Regions from separate parts of the Homo sapiens genome. Here regions 1 and 2 are each linked to region 3. The links are contacts of gene promoters, found by promoter capture Hi-C in blood cells and fetal thymus (Javierre and others, 2016). All regions are on one chromosome and are shown on one strand. Each heading gives the region's core, a stretch centred on a gene start or on the middle of the fragment in contact. The rest is flanking DNA. Distances are from core to core; before and after follow the strand shown. Region 1 holds the start of PEX19 (peroxisomal biogenesis factor 19). Region 2 holds the start of ITLN1 (intelectin 1). Region 3 overlaps SLAMF1 (signaling lymphocytic activation molecule family member 1).

Region 1 (2,700 bases), core at 110-2,609, 340 kb before region 3:
CCCCACCTCCCCAGACCACCCTCAATGAGCCTCCTACTTCCTTCTGGATTACCTAATTTATTGTGAGCAAAGGCAAAGAAATCCCTTAAGGTGGAACAAATGTCCATCTCAGAGCTGGGAGGAGAGGATTAAAAAGTTCTGCAGAGACATCTCCATCTATAGTGTCTCCCTTGCCACACCCTAACGATTCCCTAGAAATCCCATACAAATACCCAACAGTAGTAGAGAACACAGATGTCCTCATCCCTCTGAACTCACTCTGGAGCTCTAAAAGGAATAACTTGGTGAGAAAGCACAGGACATCCCACCCAGCTTCCTGTTGGTACTGGTACCAGCACAGACTGAGGGACTACATACCAGACTCCATGGTACGGCATTAAACTATCTTCTCTTATTCTCCAGTTTAGTGCTCCCCAACAACCTTCTAGAGCTCCCTTTGGCCTGATCTCTGCAGATAACCGTACACTAATTTACACAGTCACTTGGCACTCCTCAGGGTTTCTGTTCATTTTTCTGCCTGCCCACATCTCCGTGATTGAGCAAGCGATTACAAATTCACCTCTGCCCTGAAAAGCCTGTGTCCTCACCACCATTCTGTTCGCCAGGCCTAGGGAGAGAGCACTGGCCCTACTCTGGGCAGGAAGTCAACAGGGGAGTGGAGAGTAATGCTAAGAAAACATCCCCCGTCTTTCAGGAGGGTGAACTGCTTTCCCCTGAAATCGCCACATCCTCAGTTTCTCAAAATAAGGGAAAGGAGTCCGCTTGAGCTACTGACAAGATGAAAGAACTGTTAAGGGGCCTAACGAGAGAAAGAGAAAAGGACTAGGAGGAGAAAAGTGTCTTTCGTGTTAAGGAAGACAGGACGAGGCACACAAGGACCGGCCACGAGCTTGCTAGGAGTTAATGTAAGCAATCAGTGAGTGCGTAGTTCGCTACCCAGCAAGAACCAAATGCTGCTGCTGCTGCTACTGCTGCTGAAGTCGAACTTTAAGAACTCAGTAACCTAAAGAGGAGTTTGAAGAGGTATCATGAAACGCCGTCCTGCGGAAACATCCACCATCCGGACCACTGAGGGACCCCAGGTGAGCTCCCCAGCTCCAGTCGCCGGGGTGGGGCAGGATGACCCAGAGATTTTTGGGGGGCTCGGGGGTCAGACTCTCCGCCCCCATTTAACCTTTGGAGAGCCTCTCCTGCCCGTCCCTAATATCTCAGGTTCACTTAACCCCCAGAATGGGTCCTCACACGTGCCCTCTTCGGGCCTTTCCCACTATGGGCTCTTACTTTCCAGAAGCTCCTCCAATTCCCTGTCCGCTTCGGCCCCGACACTACAGCCTTCCTCAGCGGCGGCCATCTTGCTACCTCCGACTTGCCGTAGGAGGCGGGACCTCCTCGGTGCCGACACGCCCTCCACCCCTTCGCTCCCGCCCTCTTCTGCCTCGGGTAACCAATGGTATTGTTGACCAGTGCGGAACCGCCATTTTTAAAGGGCCAGGAAGCTTTGAGTGTTTGTGTTTTGGGTATTTTTCCCTTTTCTCCTGTGAAACAGAATTAGGGATAAGATAGGGTTATTTTCTGTCTGGTTTTAGAGGCCCGGACTCCTTTCTTTCAACTTCCCAAATTACCTGGCGAAGCTCTTTCATTATTTTTTCCTGAGCTGTGAGTAGGCCAGATTGAGACAAACTGCCTACAAATAACCAGAATCTAAACATATATAATTGATATGACAATTATGGCACATAACATACTACTTTCTCTCACTTCATTTTTTTTTTTTTATTTTTTTTTGAGAAGGAATCTTGCTCTGTCGCCTACGCTGGAATGCAGTGGCGCCATCTCGGCTCACTGCAGCCTTGGCCTCCCGGGTTCAAGCGATTCTTCCTGCCTCAGCCTCCCGTGTAGCTGGGATGACAGGCGCGCGACACCACGTCCGACTAATTTTTGTAGAGACGGGGTTTTAACATGTTGGCCAGGCTGGTTGGCCAGGCTGGTCTCGAACTCCGGACCTCAGCTGATCCGCCCACCTCGGCCTCCCGAAGTGCTGGGATTACAGGCGTGAGCCACTGCGCCCGGCTTCACTTCATTGTTTCCCTCAAATATTATCTTTTCTGAAACGCTTTCCTTGGCCATTCCCGTTCCTTTTCTTCCTAACACTGAACAGTATCTGACATACTATCTACCGTACTTTTTTATTCTCCGCTCCCCACCCTGCAGAATTTAAACACCATGAACGCAAAGATTTTCGTCTGTTGTCTTCACTGCTGTAAAGCCCAACTCCCAGGCTAGGGTTTAAAACTTAGTAGGCATTCATTGGCCACTCTTTGCTCTCGCAGTCCCTAATCAGGCACATCTGTCTGCCCAATCTAGTGGCATCTCTCATTTCCTATTATCTATTAGAACTGTTTGATTAAAGGACACAGGGCCGGCCAGGAACTTAGAACTCCATGTTATTAAGAGAGCCTCTGGTACCTTGGACTGAGCAGGGCAATTCGAATGCAGTAGTAATAGACTTACTTTCCCTGAACAATCTCCTTTTCTCCACACAGAACCCAACCTCCAACTGAGTGAACACGGGGAATGCTCAGATAGAGGTAACTCTAGACGTCCCTTTCCTCCTTTGGAATTGTTCTATTCAGATGTCAGAATGTAGCAACTGTTTCACATACAAATCTGTTTTCGCACTTAGAGAGCACCTATTATTAA
Region 2 (2,700 bases), core at 2-2,501, 260 kb after region 3:
AACAAAAGAAAGACTCTGAGGTAACAGTGGAGAATGGAAACGCCAGACAGTAAGCGGGGCAGTTGCCTGGGAGAAGAAGGCAAGACGGGTTGTCTCATGTCTTAGTCACAGAAGACCTTCCAGTCCAGGTGACATCTTAGCTTATTCTGAGAGAATAAACATGATTTATCAGTAGGAAGCCAATCCAAGGCAGGGAAAACAGCATATCCAAAGGCCTAGAGAAAAAAAAAAAAATACAGCGTAGTCCAGCTGTAGAACTACAAGCTGCTTAATATGGCTGAAACATGGGGTGTGAAGTAGGGAGTGGTGAGACTAATCTCTACTCCAAAAAGTCTGCAAACTATTCGAACAGTCTAGGGGAAAGCTGTGAGGTCAGAGGTGACTGACCTCAGTTTCCTCATACCTAAAACACAGTTAATAAACAGTGCTTTTGCAAAGATGAAGTAAGAAGATATTTCGAAACAGCCTTTTCTTTAAAAAAAAAATTTTTAGACGTGAAGAAAAATATAAATTTTAAAATGTCATTGTTATTCTTGTTGTAGAGAGGAAAACTGTGGAGAGAACATTCTCCAGGCACAAAGCAGACCATGTAGTTCCCATGGAAATCCCACAGCCAAGGCCACAGGAGTGGGCAGTGGCTGGAAGGTGACACAGTTCTTGCCACAGCCCCCTCAGGGCCACACAAAAGCACAGAGCCTGGACCCAGGACATGCCTCAAGCAATACCTTCACTGCCACAGGCCAGATTCCGCCAGAGACCAGAAATCGGCACTCAGTCTACATGCAAGCCAGCCGCTGTGCATCTCAAGGACATGCTCTGTGTCCTGGGAGAGACCAGGATCCCGGAAGTCATCCAGCTGAAGGAACTGCTGTCCCTAGCAGCGTGACTCACCTGTACTCCATCCTCTGGTGGTCGCTATGAGAAACAGCAGGAAGCTGAGTTGGTTCATTGTAATCTAAAGAAAGCAAGATGAAGGTCACCATCTTGGCCATCATTTTTCTCTACATCCCTGCCCCACCCCTGTCCAGTCTTACAAAGACTCCAAAACCCCTTGCCTTTTGTTTAAACTTCACACATCTCTGAGACCAAAAGCAGACCTAAGCTGAAAACAGGATTCCCCCAACTCACAGACCTTGTCTGAGTCTCAGCTGCACTTTCCTTGGGTACAGAGAGCTCCTTCACTCCCTCCCTCCACTGCGCCCTGGAGCTCAACAGAGTGCAGCTTTCTCCAAAAACGCTCCTGATGTGGAATGAGGTGCAGAAAGCTTTATGGAGGAAGCCCAGTGGGGCCAACCAAGGTTTCCAGCCTCACCCTCCCCTGGCACAATGCCCAGTGCAGGGGAGGCTTCTGGTTATCTCGGGGAGGTTATTTATACAGTGGAATTAACAGGTTCTAAAGAAAAAACCAATCCTAAGAATCACCTGCTAGCGTTGTTCCTGGATCTGGGGGTTTCATGGACCTGTGTCAAGTAGGAAGTAGACGAAGAGATTAACAAGAGTTGGTGTTGGTTTTGGGTTTTTGTGCCTTTCTTTCTTGCAAAATAAAAACTTTCTCTAAATTAAGCATCTGTTGGCTTGGCACATTGGCTCAAATCCCAATACTTTGGGAGGCCAAGGCAGAAGGATCACTTGAACTCAGGAGTTTGAGACCAGCCTGGGCAACATAGGGCAACCTCTTCTCTACTAAAAATAAAAGTAAAAAAATTAGCATGGCATGGTGGTACTTGCCTATAGTTTCAGGTGGGGCTGAGGCAAGGCAAAAGGGTAACTTAAGTCCCAGAGATAGAGGATTCAGTGAAATATGACCGTGCCACTGTACTTCAGCTTAGGTATCTCAAAATAAATAAATAAATGAAATTAATCATTGGCCATAATTATCAATTCATAGAAATAGAAAAAGGAAATTTTAACAAAATGGGAAAGTGATCATTTCTGAATAAATTGGTAAAAAGGAATGGAGGGGAAAGAGATACAAAACACACAAAAAAATACGAATAGAAAAGTTTTAAAAAATATATAAATCTTTAGTTTGAATAATTTAGTTTCACACAAAGACTCACTACTTTGTCTTTAATTTTGTCATTTTGCCACAAACGAGGGAAAATTTACTACAGGATTCATTTGAAACTGAATCAATACGAAACCTCTCTGCTGCTTCGAACCTCCTGTCTTATTCCTGCTCCTATGTCATGAAGTTCTCAAATGCTACCCTGCAGCTGTAATAGAATTACTCAGTTCTTCCCCAGTGATATCATACATTTAATACATAATGTCATTATAGCATTAATAATACTGCAACCTTTTCTTACAAAGATTGTGAATATCTTTTTTGTTAAGCTAATATTTCCTATTTGTTGGTTCAAAGTACTGATTTGCAAAAAATACTCACATATTGATAGAAGAAAATAAAATAGCACCCAAGAAGAAAAACTGCAAAAAAAAGTTATACTTTTGTAAATTTAAAATCTATTAGAAGCTATTTGCTCTGTGTATCTGGAAAATAATTAATTAAATAAAATTAAATGTATTAGAAACTAAATTAACTCATCAGTATAGGTAACAAAATGAACATACCCAGCTTTCATATTTACAAACAACAACCTCTTAGAAATAGAGGTCTCAGCCAGGCGCTGCGGCTTACACCTGTAATCCCAGCACTTTGAGGGGACGAGGGTGGCCAATCACTTGAGGTCAGGAGTT
Region 3 (2,700 bases), core at 188-2,687:
ATACCCACTTTCCCCAAGGGCACAATGGAAACAAAGCCCTGAGTCCCAGCCCCCCTGCACATTTGTCATATTGTCTTAGGTTAGTTACTTGATCACTCTAGGCCTATCTGTGAAATGGGATTTGAAATACCTGCCTCACGGGGCTGTTGTGATAATTAAATGAGATACCACTTGTAAAGTGTTTAGAACACTGCCTGGTGCATAACAAATGCCCAATACGCATTAGGTGTTTTTCTCATTGGTGTACCATTCAATTACTTTAATCTCTGTTGCTCAATGTGCATATCTGGTCTCCTAATAGGATTCTAAGTTCTTTGAGGGCAGGGCTAGTTGTTTATACCTCTTTTGTATTTTCCAGCTGGTAGTATGTTGCTTCACTCACAGCTTTCTCACCTCCCTATTTCTGGGGGAATTGATGTGTGGGAGGTAAGGGCGGGGGGACGTGTAAGAGGGATGTTCCACCTGGGACTATTTAGAAAATAAAGCAACAATGTCATTCTGTTGCCCACCATCTGGAAATTTTGCTCAGGGCCTAGGGTCTCTGGAAATTAATAAGTTGCAGAATATTTTAATTTTTAGCCAATTTTAAAAAGCTTTCTTTTTAAATTATAGGAGTAATTTATTCTCATCATAAAATAAAAATTGTGAAGAAATATATAAAGTATAAAGTAAAAAGTATAAATCCCCTTCTTCCATTAACCAACCCAATTTCATTCCCAAAAGAAACCGTATTTTTCAATACCTGTGAAAAGAAGTGGGAAAAAAAAGAAGAAACCATTTTTAAAAGTTTGATGTATATCCCTGTAGATCAGCTCTGTGCAACAGAACTTTCTGAGATGATGGAAATGTTCCATATCTGCAGTGTCTAATACAGCTTACAGACACGGGGCTATGGAGCACCTGAACTGTGACTAATGTCACTGAATTTTAAATTTTATTTAATTCAAATTAATTTAAATTTAAAAAGCCACATGTGGCTAGTGACTACCATATTAGACAATGCAGTTTTGGATATTTGCTATACTTATATAGACTTTTTTCCACACAAGAGGTGTCATTCTGCACACACTTCTCTGTAACTTGATCTTTTCACTTAAAATGTATTGAGGACATTTTTCATGTTAGCACAGTAGACCTATCTCATTCTTTCTAAAGTTGCACAGTATCCTTTGTATACATCATGCAGCAGTAAGGATGGTGGGAAAGTGGCAGACTGAAGGATGGAGGTTTATTATGGGATTATTGCAAAGTCCAGGCAGAGGCAATGGAGGCTGGACCCAGAAAATCACAGCCTTTAAGGTAGACTTATTTTAACACCAGTTAATTTATTCTCTTAAAAAACTGGGCTGGGTGCAGTGGCTCACGCCTATAATCACAGCACTATGGGAGGCTGAGGTGGGCAGATCACGAGGTCAGGAGTTTGAGACCAGCCTGGCCAACATGGGGAAACCCTGTCTCTACTAAAAATACAAAAATTAGCCAGGCATGGTGGCACGCGCTTATAATTTCAGCTACTCAGGAGGCTGAGACAGAAGAACTGCTTGAGCCCAGGAGACAGAGGTTGCAGTGAGCCGAGATCATGCCATTGCACTCCAGCCTGAGTGACAGAGCAAGAATCTATCTCAAAAAAAAAAAAAAAAAAAAAAAGGCACATCTCTGAGGAAATAGCATTTTTAGGAGAGGCACATTTTTCTTTGGAAGGGAAAGGCCCAGTGTGTATGTGGTGAGCATGGTGGAATGTGCTGCGTGAGGGTGTGAGTCTTGGGGAGGAAATGTGGGGCAGACACTGATGAAGTTCCAGGAATTCAAGGAAAGTCAACATGGGATTTTTTGTGTGTGGGTATGAGCACGGTGTGCCTAGTGGTTTCAACTTCGCTTTTTTGGTCAGAGTTGATCCTGACTGAGGAGTGTGCGTGAGTGCGTGTGTGTGTGTGTGTGTGTGTGTGTGTGTGTAAAATGGAGGGGAGGACTCAAGAAGCAGTTGGAGGTAGCAGAGGAGGTTCAAGTTAGTCCCCACGAGTGTTTGCAAAGTAAGACATGCCTGCCCAGCACTCTCCTAGGTGCTGTAGTGGCTACAAATAGAGTAGAGAACAGACTACAGTCCTCAAAGACTTTCAGTCTTGCAGGTCAGCTCAGAGTCAAATGTAGAACTGGAAGGACAGTCCTAAATGGTCAGACAGATGGAAGAGGTGAGGTTGATTGTTGCTGCTTAAAAGGACCATTGGACCAAGATAATTTAGTCTCAGGTTATTTTCCCCAGTGCAAGAACAGGTTTTTAGGAGTAAGCTTAACTCGGCTCCAAGTCAGCAAGGTCTTAGGCTCTAAGGAAAAAGTCTTGGCCTTAAAATTAGGACATCTACATTGTAGCCATCATTAGCTGTGTGGCATTGGACAAATCACGTCATCTCAATGGGTCTTTTCTCTTACCATAACTGTAAAATGAGGGCATAGAGTATCTAATATCCTTTTCAGCTTTTACCTGAAGCATAAAGTCTTATGTTACCATGACTTAAAATATTTTCAATCTGTTCTAGGTATTGTTTCCAGATGCTTCCAGTGCAGCTTCTCCTGGCCATAGCACTTACACATTGCCATTTTAATTCATCTACACTAAGAGATCTGTCTATCTGTCTATGTATCTATCTGTCTATGTATCTATCTATCTATCACCCATCGATGGGAACCACTGTGTTCAGTGTT

Evidence for each region. Contacts are between HindIII fragments. The CHiCAGO score rates a contact against its expected background, and 5 or more counts as called.
Region 1: the fragment with the promoter of PEX19 here is called in contact with a fragment that was not itself captured in region 3 in 3 of 17 cell types (fetal thymus, total B cells and activated CD4 T cells); the score reaches 6.0 in fetal thymus.
Region 2: the fragment with the promoter of ITLN1 here is called in contact with a fragment that was not itself captured in region 3 in 5 of 17 cell types (naive CD4 T cells, megakaryocytes, fetal thymus and 2 more); the score reaches 6.5 in naive CD4 T cells.

The regions. Positions count from the first base shown.
Region 1 is chr1:160,283,774-160,286,473 of GRCh38, forward strand. PEX19 (peroxisomal biogenesis factor 19) reads right to left here and starts at 1,360. Exons shown (of 8, transcript NM_002857.4): 1 at 1,282-1,360. The coding sequence starts at 1,351. LOC107985219 (a long non-coding RNA gene) reads left to right here and starts at 592. Exons shown (of 3, transcript XR_001738265.2): 1 at 592-1,082; 2 at 2,544-2,588. The HindIII fragment of the contact is 4,290 bases long and covers 1-1,494 here.
Region 2 is chr1:160,883,929-160,886,628 of GRCh38, forward strand. It overlaps ITLN1 (intelectin 1), which reads right to left and starts at 1,252. Exons shown (of 8, transcript NM_017625.3): 1 at 1,133-1,252; 2 at 892-955. The coding sequence starts at 949. The HindIII fragment of the contact is 4,692 bases long and covers 1-1,263 here.
Region 3 is chr1:160,619,935-160,622,634 of GRCh38, forward strand. All of the region lies in intron 4 of SLAMF1 (signaling lymphocytic activation molecule family member 1), which reads right to left. Among named protein-coding and RNA genes, the nearest start is that of SLAMF1, 26 kb to the right of the region's middle. The HindIII fragment of the contact is 1,693 bases long and covers 592-2,284 here.